2 separate regions of the Homo sapiens genome follow, and region 1 is linked to region 2. The links are contacts of gene promoters, found by promoter capture Hi-C in blood cells and fetal thymus (Javierre and others, 2016). All regions are on one chromosome and are shown on one strand. Each heading gives the region's core, a stretch centred on a gene start or on the middle of the fragment in contact. The rest is flanking DNA. Distances are from core to core; before and after follow the strand shown.

Region 1 (4,240 bases), core at 1,588-4,087, 1.5 Mb after region 2:
TGAAGACCCATCAAAACAGAGGGGGGATTGAGGGGATGTCTGAGCAAAGGAGAAAAAGTAGAAAAAGCAGAATTGAGCCCTAAAAGGACCAGCATGCCTATGAAGAGGACATGGAGTTGTGGGAAACAACATAGCCCAGAAAGTGCCCAGAAGCCTTTTGGGGGCCTGGCCACATGCCCACAACTGGAGAGCACGCAAAGAACCAGACACACCCCACACCTTTGAAAATCCTGTTAATGGTGAGAGGCTTGTCTCCGTGTAGGGAGCCCTTCCCTCCTTCCAGGCTGAAGCCCAGCCCTGCCGACATCTTCTCCAGTGTCACCGTGCAGACTGTGGCCTCTGCTGCTGAGAAAAACACAAGGTCTCTGTTAGGGATCCTCTCCTCTCCCAGGCCACAGATGCCCTGGGCTTCAAGTGAGCCCGGGGTGATACAGCCCCCGTGTTTGCACACAGGCACATGTAAACACGTCTCAGGCAGTGTACTAGGCAGCCACACATTCTTGGGGTCACAAATTACTGAGTAGCCCCATCAGGTCTGGCCCCAAATGGCCAAAGAGGATGTGGCCCATGTGGCTTCCACTGAGTTGGGAGAACTTACTAGATTCTACAGAAACATCACTGGCTGCAGAGGCTGAGGCTGCAGAGTCAGTGGAGGAGTTGAGGTCGGGCATGGCCTCTGGAGTCAGCTTCCTTGTGACAATCACAGCTTGCCTGGGCTCTCGAGCTTGGCGGAGGATGGCCAAGGCATCATGGTGCGTGGTCCCCTTGAGAGACTTGCCGTTGATGGAAAGAACCTCATTGCCCTTCTGAATAGTCCCTTCCTGGGAGGCCAGCCCATTTGGAAACACTCTGTGAACCTGAGCAAACCAAAGGAAGTCAGGACCAGAAATCACACAAGTCCAGTCCACATACTTGCTGGAGGAGGATTGAACCGGTTAGTCAATGCTAGAGGATTTTTAGGCCAACAAAGATTAAAGATAATTGTGTCCTAGATTGGAGCTGCTGGCACAGAGGCCAGCATTCCCTCCTTCTCCATCCAGAGCAGAGATCACCAGCAGTAATGACCAGGTAAGCCCTCAGAATCCATCCCAACACAACGTCCTATAGTGTACCACCACGATTCTAGTTGGGATTCCATATAAAATCTTTTGCTTCACCTGCCCTAGGTCAGAAGTCCCCAGAGTAGTTTTCTCAAGGCACTGATTCTATGGCATATTAACGGGTATTGTGTAAGAAAAAGGCTTTTCCTATTATTTTTTAAAAAATAGAGACAGGGTCTCCCAGTGTTGCCCAGGATGGTCTCAAACTCCTGGGCTCAAGCAATCCTCTCACCTTGGCCCCGCACAGTGTTGGAATTACAGGTATGAGCCACCACACCCGGCCAAGAAAAATTTTTTAAAATCAAAGAAACTTGAGGAATACTGGGTGAAACAAAAGCTCTGACATTGTCTACTTTTAAAAAGCAAAAGGCATTAGAGGGTCTACAATGCAAATTTGCATGGCAGCAGATTTCTAAGCAAAAGGCATTTAGAGGGTCTACAATGCAAATCTGCATGGCAGATTTCTAAGTATTGGCAGGGTATTATGGGGATTCCCAAAGTGTTTCAACAAAGAATTCTTTTCTCATAGAGAAATTCTCGGTCTCATTTGGCAGAATGCATTTTGAGAAACACTCTCCTAGGCAGTCTAGACATTTTTATAGCTCCTCCCCTAGAAATTCTGACTCTTTACCTCCAGTCACCTCTTGGTCCCCTTTCTGCAAGATATGTGGGATAAACAAACACACAAAAATATCTCATGTCTCTGCCTCAGCCTCTTTAATGAGGTCCATTATAATTAAGAGGACTGAGTGATAGCATGCATGGAAACCACTAAAATGTGGTACCTGTAGTTTTGCTTTTATGATAGGAGCAAAGCTCTTTGCTTCTCTAAATTGTTTTGGTGTTAGAAAAATTCTGTTACATGGTTAGAATCCCCAGGCTGTAACATCCAAGCATGAAGCAGAACCTCTCCTCTGAGCCTCAGGTTCCTCAATGCTAGAGGATTTTTAGGCCAACGAAGATTAAAGTTAATTAAAGGAGGAACCTCAGGTTCCTCCTCTATAAAAGAAGCATAAATGCCACCAATTTATCAATCCAAAGTGTGGGTAGGATGAATTTAGACAACAGGTCAGTGAGTGCTCAGCATGGCCGTGGATGGTGCTCTACGTTAGTTCCCTTTTAATCATCTGGAAAGGAAGAGAAATGCTCAAACACAGAAGGAGAAAGAAGCTTTTGTGCATGTGCTCAGCCAACATGTGCGCCTTCCTCCTAGTTTCCTGTTGTCTGCAGTGTCTCAAGGGTGACTGGCCAGATGACGTGGACAGAAGTTGCTACTCATGGACAGAGAAAAATACCCAAAGTGCCATTCCCACAGGCAAGCTCTCTTTCCTCCTCTTCAAGTAGAAAGTAAACTACACGGTCAGGAATCTTTTTGTAATACTCAGCTGCACTCAGTGAGAGAAATAGAGACTTACAGGTTTTAAGTGTTTTTTATGTGATAGAAAACTTATCAGGAAATCAAGGAAGTCACCACTGACATGATTGACTCTGAAGTGACACGCAGGAACATGCCAGATTGCCACTGCAAGGGGGTGTGGTATGTTGAATGCTGGCTGATGCTGTGAACTGGAGGATTTGTTTTCAGTTGGGCATGGAAATTCAAATGAGCCCAGCACAGCCTACACAAAGGATACCCTGAGACAACACAGCCCTGGGATGACAGCAATGCACTCGGCTTTAGAGAGCGAGCAGCCGCAGCATGGCTCCACAAAACTGGCAGAACCAGAAACCATCTGGGTCAGGTACAGGTGACCTGAAGGCAGCAGCCAATGCTGATCAGATTGGATGAGCCAGAATAGTGGGACCCACAGGAAAAGATGCCCATGGCCAGGCCTGCTACCCTCTCCACGCAGCCCCAGGCTCTGGGATGTGCTGAGTGGACAGGACCTGCCCAGTGGCCTAGTGTCATGCATTCTTCATTTCCCCAGCACAGGGCCCCTTCCTGGCAAGTGTGTCCCCCTCCCCCAGAACCATTGCCTCTGGCTGTGACATGCCCCTTCACTTGGCCACTCACCGTAATCACCTTGTTTTCTAGATCTGCTCCTCCTGCCAAGCTGAACCCAAGACCAGCACCTTCCTCCTTGTGTAAGATGGTGACATGGATGCCGTCTAATTGCTGCAGAGGAAATACATACATTCAAAAACATTTTACTGCAAGAGGATGAACAATTTAACATCGGACTGACATCAGACTGATTTGTTATCTCAAACCCCAGCTTGGCCAGCCTCCAAGTTACATCACCTCCTCAAACCTCAGTTTCCTCATCTGTAAAGAATGGACCTTCAGGAGTCATGGGAAGCTTAGAAGAAAAAAAAAATGTATGTAAAGCAGCAAGCATAATTATTTTCCTCTCTCATTCACCCTGTCCACAGCCGGGCAGGGGGAGTGCCATGAAGTCAGCCAGAAATCAGCATATTGGACAGTGTGAGATGAAGTCAGGTTGTAGGACTTCAGGTAAAACAAAACAAAAAAAAAAAACAACAAAAAACAAAACAGGGGTCAGTGCTGTTCTGCAGGAATTGGTTGCTCCTTCTTCCCTTCTACTTCTCCATGGGTCACAGCAGCAGCACTAAGGAAGCCCAGCTAACATCCTGCCCCAATGCACAGTGTGCAAGTGTGACACACACACACACACACACACACACACATTACTACGGTACTTCCTAGCCTAGACGGGGACTCCCATGGAGCCAGGACACAGTCAGAGACTCCTATTCCAGTCTAGAGCAGGGGTCTCAAACTCAGATGCCTATAGGAGTCAGGCAGGTCCCTAAAATGAGCCAAATGGGCAGATGTGTGATAGGAACTGCAGAGCGCCAACGAGTACATCTGCTCAAAGGGTCAGCTCTACGTAGGCATACAGAACTAGCGCTACCAGATCACTTCCCTAAAGTCCAGGTTTCAATTCAGGTTTTATCATGTATAGAATTCAATATTTTTTTCATCACCATGCAGACCAAATAAAGTACACCTACAGGTTCTTGGGGCACCTGTTTGTACCTTGGCACTAAGGAGTAAACTTATGTCAAAGAATTCACTTGCTCAGCGTCACTAGAGCACCTGACTTGCAGCTGTCCCTATGATCCTAAGACTTGGAGCCCCTAAGACCCAAAGGCATGGAAGGATGAATGTACCTCAC
Region 2 (4,398 bases), core at 1,758-4,257:
GGGCACTGCAGCTCCCAACCAGGGTGTTTAAATACAATCTGTGTTCTAACTCTTCACTTTAGAGTTAAGGAAACGGAGGCCCAGACAAACTTAAGATACACCGACACTCGGGCTCGACATGCCCCCCTGGCTACGGAAGGCCTGTTTAAGGAGATATCAGGAAATCCAGTTTACGTGTCAGGGTGGAGCTAAATCTGTTCATGCAACAAGCACCAAGACGGCCCTAGTCTCTGCCTAGGAAATGTGCAGTGTAGACTGAGAAATACAGTCCATGTCAGCTCCCATCCTGGGAGTGCACTGAGACAGGTGGTGGGAATGGGAGGAGGAAAGGAGGGAGATGCCAGGAAGCTGGGATCAGGAGCCGTTTGCCAAAGCAAGGCCTGTGAGGTGTTGATTCGGGAACAAGTGAAAGTGTTTGTGAAGGTTTTGAGCTGGGAAAAGTTGGAATCAGATTTTGTACTTGCTGTTATCCCCAAGGGTAAACAATAAGCAAACGAAAAAATCAGGGCGAAGCTAAAGCTCTAGTTAGGGCATCTCTCTGCCTTGAAAATGACCTCAAGAAATCTAGGAACCTCTGTGGAATGCAACTTGAAGATGGAAAGGTGCCTTTGTCTGAAGGTCCCTCCCCTTTTATGCCTGCTGCCGGTGTGAGGGTTGGGGATTGGGCCCTGGGACTCAGTCACTCAGTCTTCTTGGAGAGATAAACTTTTAGCTGAAGTGATTGATTTTCCCCTATTTTAATATACTATTTTAACTAATATGAGTTACTTATGATTTTTAACAGTCTGTTTTAAATATCTTTCTTGTATATTCCTCACATTATATCTTTTTACTATCTGCTTTATACTGTGTTATTTCTGTTAGTTTTCTTATCTATTTGGTTTTTCAAGCGGAAACTGTCAATCTTTCTAATTATAAAATTGTCGTGGGTGGCTGGGTGCAGTGACTAACACCTGTAATCCCAGCACTTTTGGAGGCCGAGGTGGGCGGATCAGTTGAAGTCAGGAGTTCGAGACCAGCCTGGCCAAAATGGCCAAACCCCGTCTCTACTAAAAATACCAAAAAAAAAAAAAAAAAGAGAGAGAAAAAGAAAAGTTAGCCGGGCGTGGTGGTGCATGCCCTATAATCCCAACTACTCAGGAGGCTGAGGCATCAGAATTGCTTGAATCCAGGAGGCAGAGGTTACAGTGAGCCGAGATTGCACCACAGCATTCCAGCCTGGGCGAAACAGTGAGACTCTGCCTCAAAAAAAAAAGAAAAGAAAAAATAAAATTATCCTCTCTCTATATATTAATATATGTCTTAGTCCATTCAGGCTGCTATAACAGAATACCATTGAGTGGGTGGCTTGTAAACAACAAACATTTATTTCTCATGGTTCTGGAGGCTGGAAAGTCCAAGATTAAAGCACCAGCAGATTCAGTGTCTGGTAAGGAAGGGCTGCTTCTTGGTTCGTAGATACCTGTATTCTTACTGCATCTTCACATGGAAGAGCTCTCTGGGACCCCCAATGTAATGGCACTAATTTTATTCATGAGGGCTTGCCTTCATGACCTAATCACCTCCCAAAGGCCACATTTCCAAATACCATCACATTGGGGATTTGGTTTCAACATGGGAATTTTAGGGGAATATAAACTGTCTATAGCATATGTATATATATGTATGATGGTTAATTTTAATGTGTCAACTTGATTGGGTCACCAGGTGTTTAGTCAGACATTATTCTGGGTGTGTGTGTGTGATGGTGTTTCTGGATGAGATTAACCTTTGAGTTAGTAGACTGAGTAAAACTGGTTGCCCTCCCTCATGTGAGTGGGCCTCATCCAATCGATTGAAGGTCTGAATAGAACAAAAGCTTGAATAAGAGGGAATTCTTCCTGCCTAACTGCCTTCAAGTGGGAATATGGGTTTTTTTCCTGCCTTCCAACTCAAATGGAAACATTGGCTCTCCAGGGTCTTGAGCCTGCTGGCCTTTGGACTAGAACCACACCATTGGCTCTCCTGGATCTTCCGCTTACTAACTGCAGATCTTGGGACTTTTTGGTCTTCATAATTACATGAGTCAATTCCTTATGATAAATCTGTTTCCATATATGTATACATTCTATTGGTTCTGTTTCTCTGGACAACTCTGACTATTACACTGTGTGTGTGTGTGTGTGTGTGTGCGTGCGTGCATGTGAGAGAGAGAGAGGAGAGAGAGATTATACTGTTATGCTGGTCTGTGGGCTCAGCATCAAAGTAGGAATTTTGCAACACACCCACAGTTAACACTCACTTTTTTCCTCAACACCTAGACTCTTTCAACTTCTTAACAGAGTCAGAATTTTGGAAGAAAAGAACATTAACACTAAATTGTCATTTTATAAATTATTAAACTAAAGCTTAGAGAAATAGTCAATCATAGTCCATAAGGAATGTATTGGCTGGATAGTCCCATTTCTATGCCATACCATGGCAAGTAAAAAAAAAAAATAATAATGTTTGCTTAAGGCTTATATGGGAAGTGTGTCCTGTGCTTTGATTAGAAAAGTGCCCCCAAAATGTTTTTTAACCTTGTATGGTTCATGAGCACCTCTGAGAATCTATTGAAACCTGTGAGTTCTCTTCCCGGAAGTGATTCTATAAGGACACAGACATAATTTTGCATATAATTTTAGAAACTCATTCACTTAAAAAAAAAAAAAAGGAATCTTCTTCCTGGTCTTGCCGTGACAGTCCCCAGCCCTCTCCACATGACCAGCCATCTGAGACCCATGGTAGAGCCACAAGTCTAAAACCCCTCACAGCACAGAAAGTAACTCAGAGCACGGCATGTGACCTCTCCTGGTGACACTTGAGTAGTAAGAAGTGGCAACTCAGCCACAGCAGGTCTATATTTGGACCTTCACTCATGGCAGGCCTGTTGCTATTTGTGGCTGCAGCCAGCTCATGTTACCATCCAGCTTTGGTGCCCCACTTGCAGAACTCTGGTGTAAAATAGGCAGGGGTAGCCTGTGGGGCATGCAGAGGTCACTAGGAAGGAAAGCCTGCTGAACACAGATTCAATTTTCTAGCAGAACTCCAGGTCCTCTGAGTTAAAGGAAGCATTTATGGACGCTTAGCAGGCAAGTTTTGGGGTAGTCATATTCTTCCAATGCAAATTGTATTATTAGAAACTCAATGCTGCAATATTAATGCAATATCTTTCCTGTAGGTGGGAAGAGATATCATGGTAAATTGCAGATGTTTAAATTACAATAAATAGTGTAAATGTTTTCTGTGCCTTCTTAAAGCAAGAATTCGCATTAACTGAACATGATGTTGGGACAGGATGTGAGAGGCTCTGATGAAGGCAGACAGGGGCTGGTGATTCTTATAATGTGTCTTTAGGATATCTGTAGTGCTGGGACCCATTAGTTAGAACCATTTGGTAGAACAGTTTGGAAATATAGATGTTGAATATCATCTGGCTATACTATTGTGTTGTAAATACATTTTATTTAATCTGTGTGTACATGCTGAAAAATAATAACTTCATGCATTGATTCAAATACTAAAAAACAGCATCGTAATTATTTTTCACTTGTTATGCATACAGCCTCCTCCTATAGAAAGTTTTCAGGTTCGGGCAGTGTCTGCAAAGCTGATTTGAATCATTTCATATCACTGTAACACTTTAAGGCAAGCTTTCTTTCACTGCTGTGGCTCAGGAATTGCCAAGGGCTGCATGGAAGAGCTAAAATTATAGGCAAAGTTATGTTCCTGCCCTTATGGAATCACTTCTGGGAAGAGAATTCACAGGTTTCAGTAGATTCAGTAGATATGCCCATGATCCATAAAAGGTTAATAAACAAGCCAAGTGAGGTGGCAGATTGCATGAGCCCAGGAGTTCAAGACCAGTCTGGGCAACATAGCAAGAACCTGTCTCTAAAAAAAAAAAAAAAAAAAAATTATTGGGGGACTTTTCTAAGTAATGCACAGGGATACACCTCCCATATAAGCCTTAGACAAACATCTTTTTTATTTTTTTTAACTGCTTCCCTTGGCATAGAGGAAAGGGTATCCAGCAAAGACATTCATAATGGACTATGACTAATTGCTTTACTTCTCTAAGCTTTAGTTTCACCATTTATAAAATGACAGTTTATTGTCAACTTTCCTTTCTCCCCAAATCCTGATTTTGTTAAGAAAGAGTCTAGGTGTTGAGGGGAAAAGTGACTGTTAACTGTAGGGTGTGTTGCAAAATTCCTACTTTGACACTGAGCCAGTTTGTGTTGAGACCACTTTGTGTTGTGTGTTCGAAGGGCAAGTGCCAGCTTGAAAGCATGTGTTCTTATCTGTATTTGCACTAAGTGTTTTCCAGTCTTCTGACAGTTCAACTTGGTGTTTCACATTCCAGCTTCTGGTTGAAAT

Evidence for each region. Contacts are between HindIII fragments. The CHiCAGO score rates a contact against its expected background, and 5 or more counts as called.
Region 1: a contact is called between a fragment that was not itself captured here and the fragment with the promoter of FSD2 in region 2, in 1 of 17 cell types (total B cells). The highest score is 7.6, in total B cells.

What each region holds. Positions count from the first base shown.
Region 1 is chr15:81,302,525-81,306,764 of GRCh38, reverse strand. IL16 (interleukin 16) reads right to left here. Exons shown (of 19, transcript NM_172217.5): 16 at 3,115-3,216; 17 at 599-857; 18 at 220-345. Among named protein-coding and RNA genes, the nearest start is that of STARD5, 19 kb to the left of the region's middle. RefSeq lists enhancers at 2,414-2,944, 2,329-3,528. The HindIII fragment of the contact is 1,130 bases long and covers 2,273-3,402 here.
Region 2 is chr15:82,804,678-82,809,075 of GRCh38, reverse strand. FSD2 (fibronectin type III and SPRY domain containing 2) reads left to right here and starts at 3,007. Exons shown (of 13, transcript NM_001007122.4): 1 at 3,007-3,110. RefSeq lists an enhancer at 2,624-2,723. The HindIII fragment of the contact is 1,284 bases long and covers 2,390-3,673 here.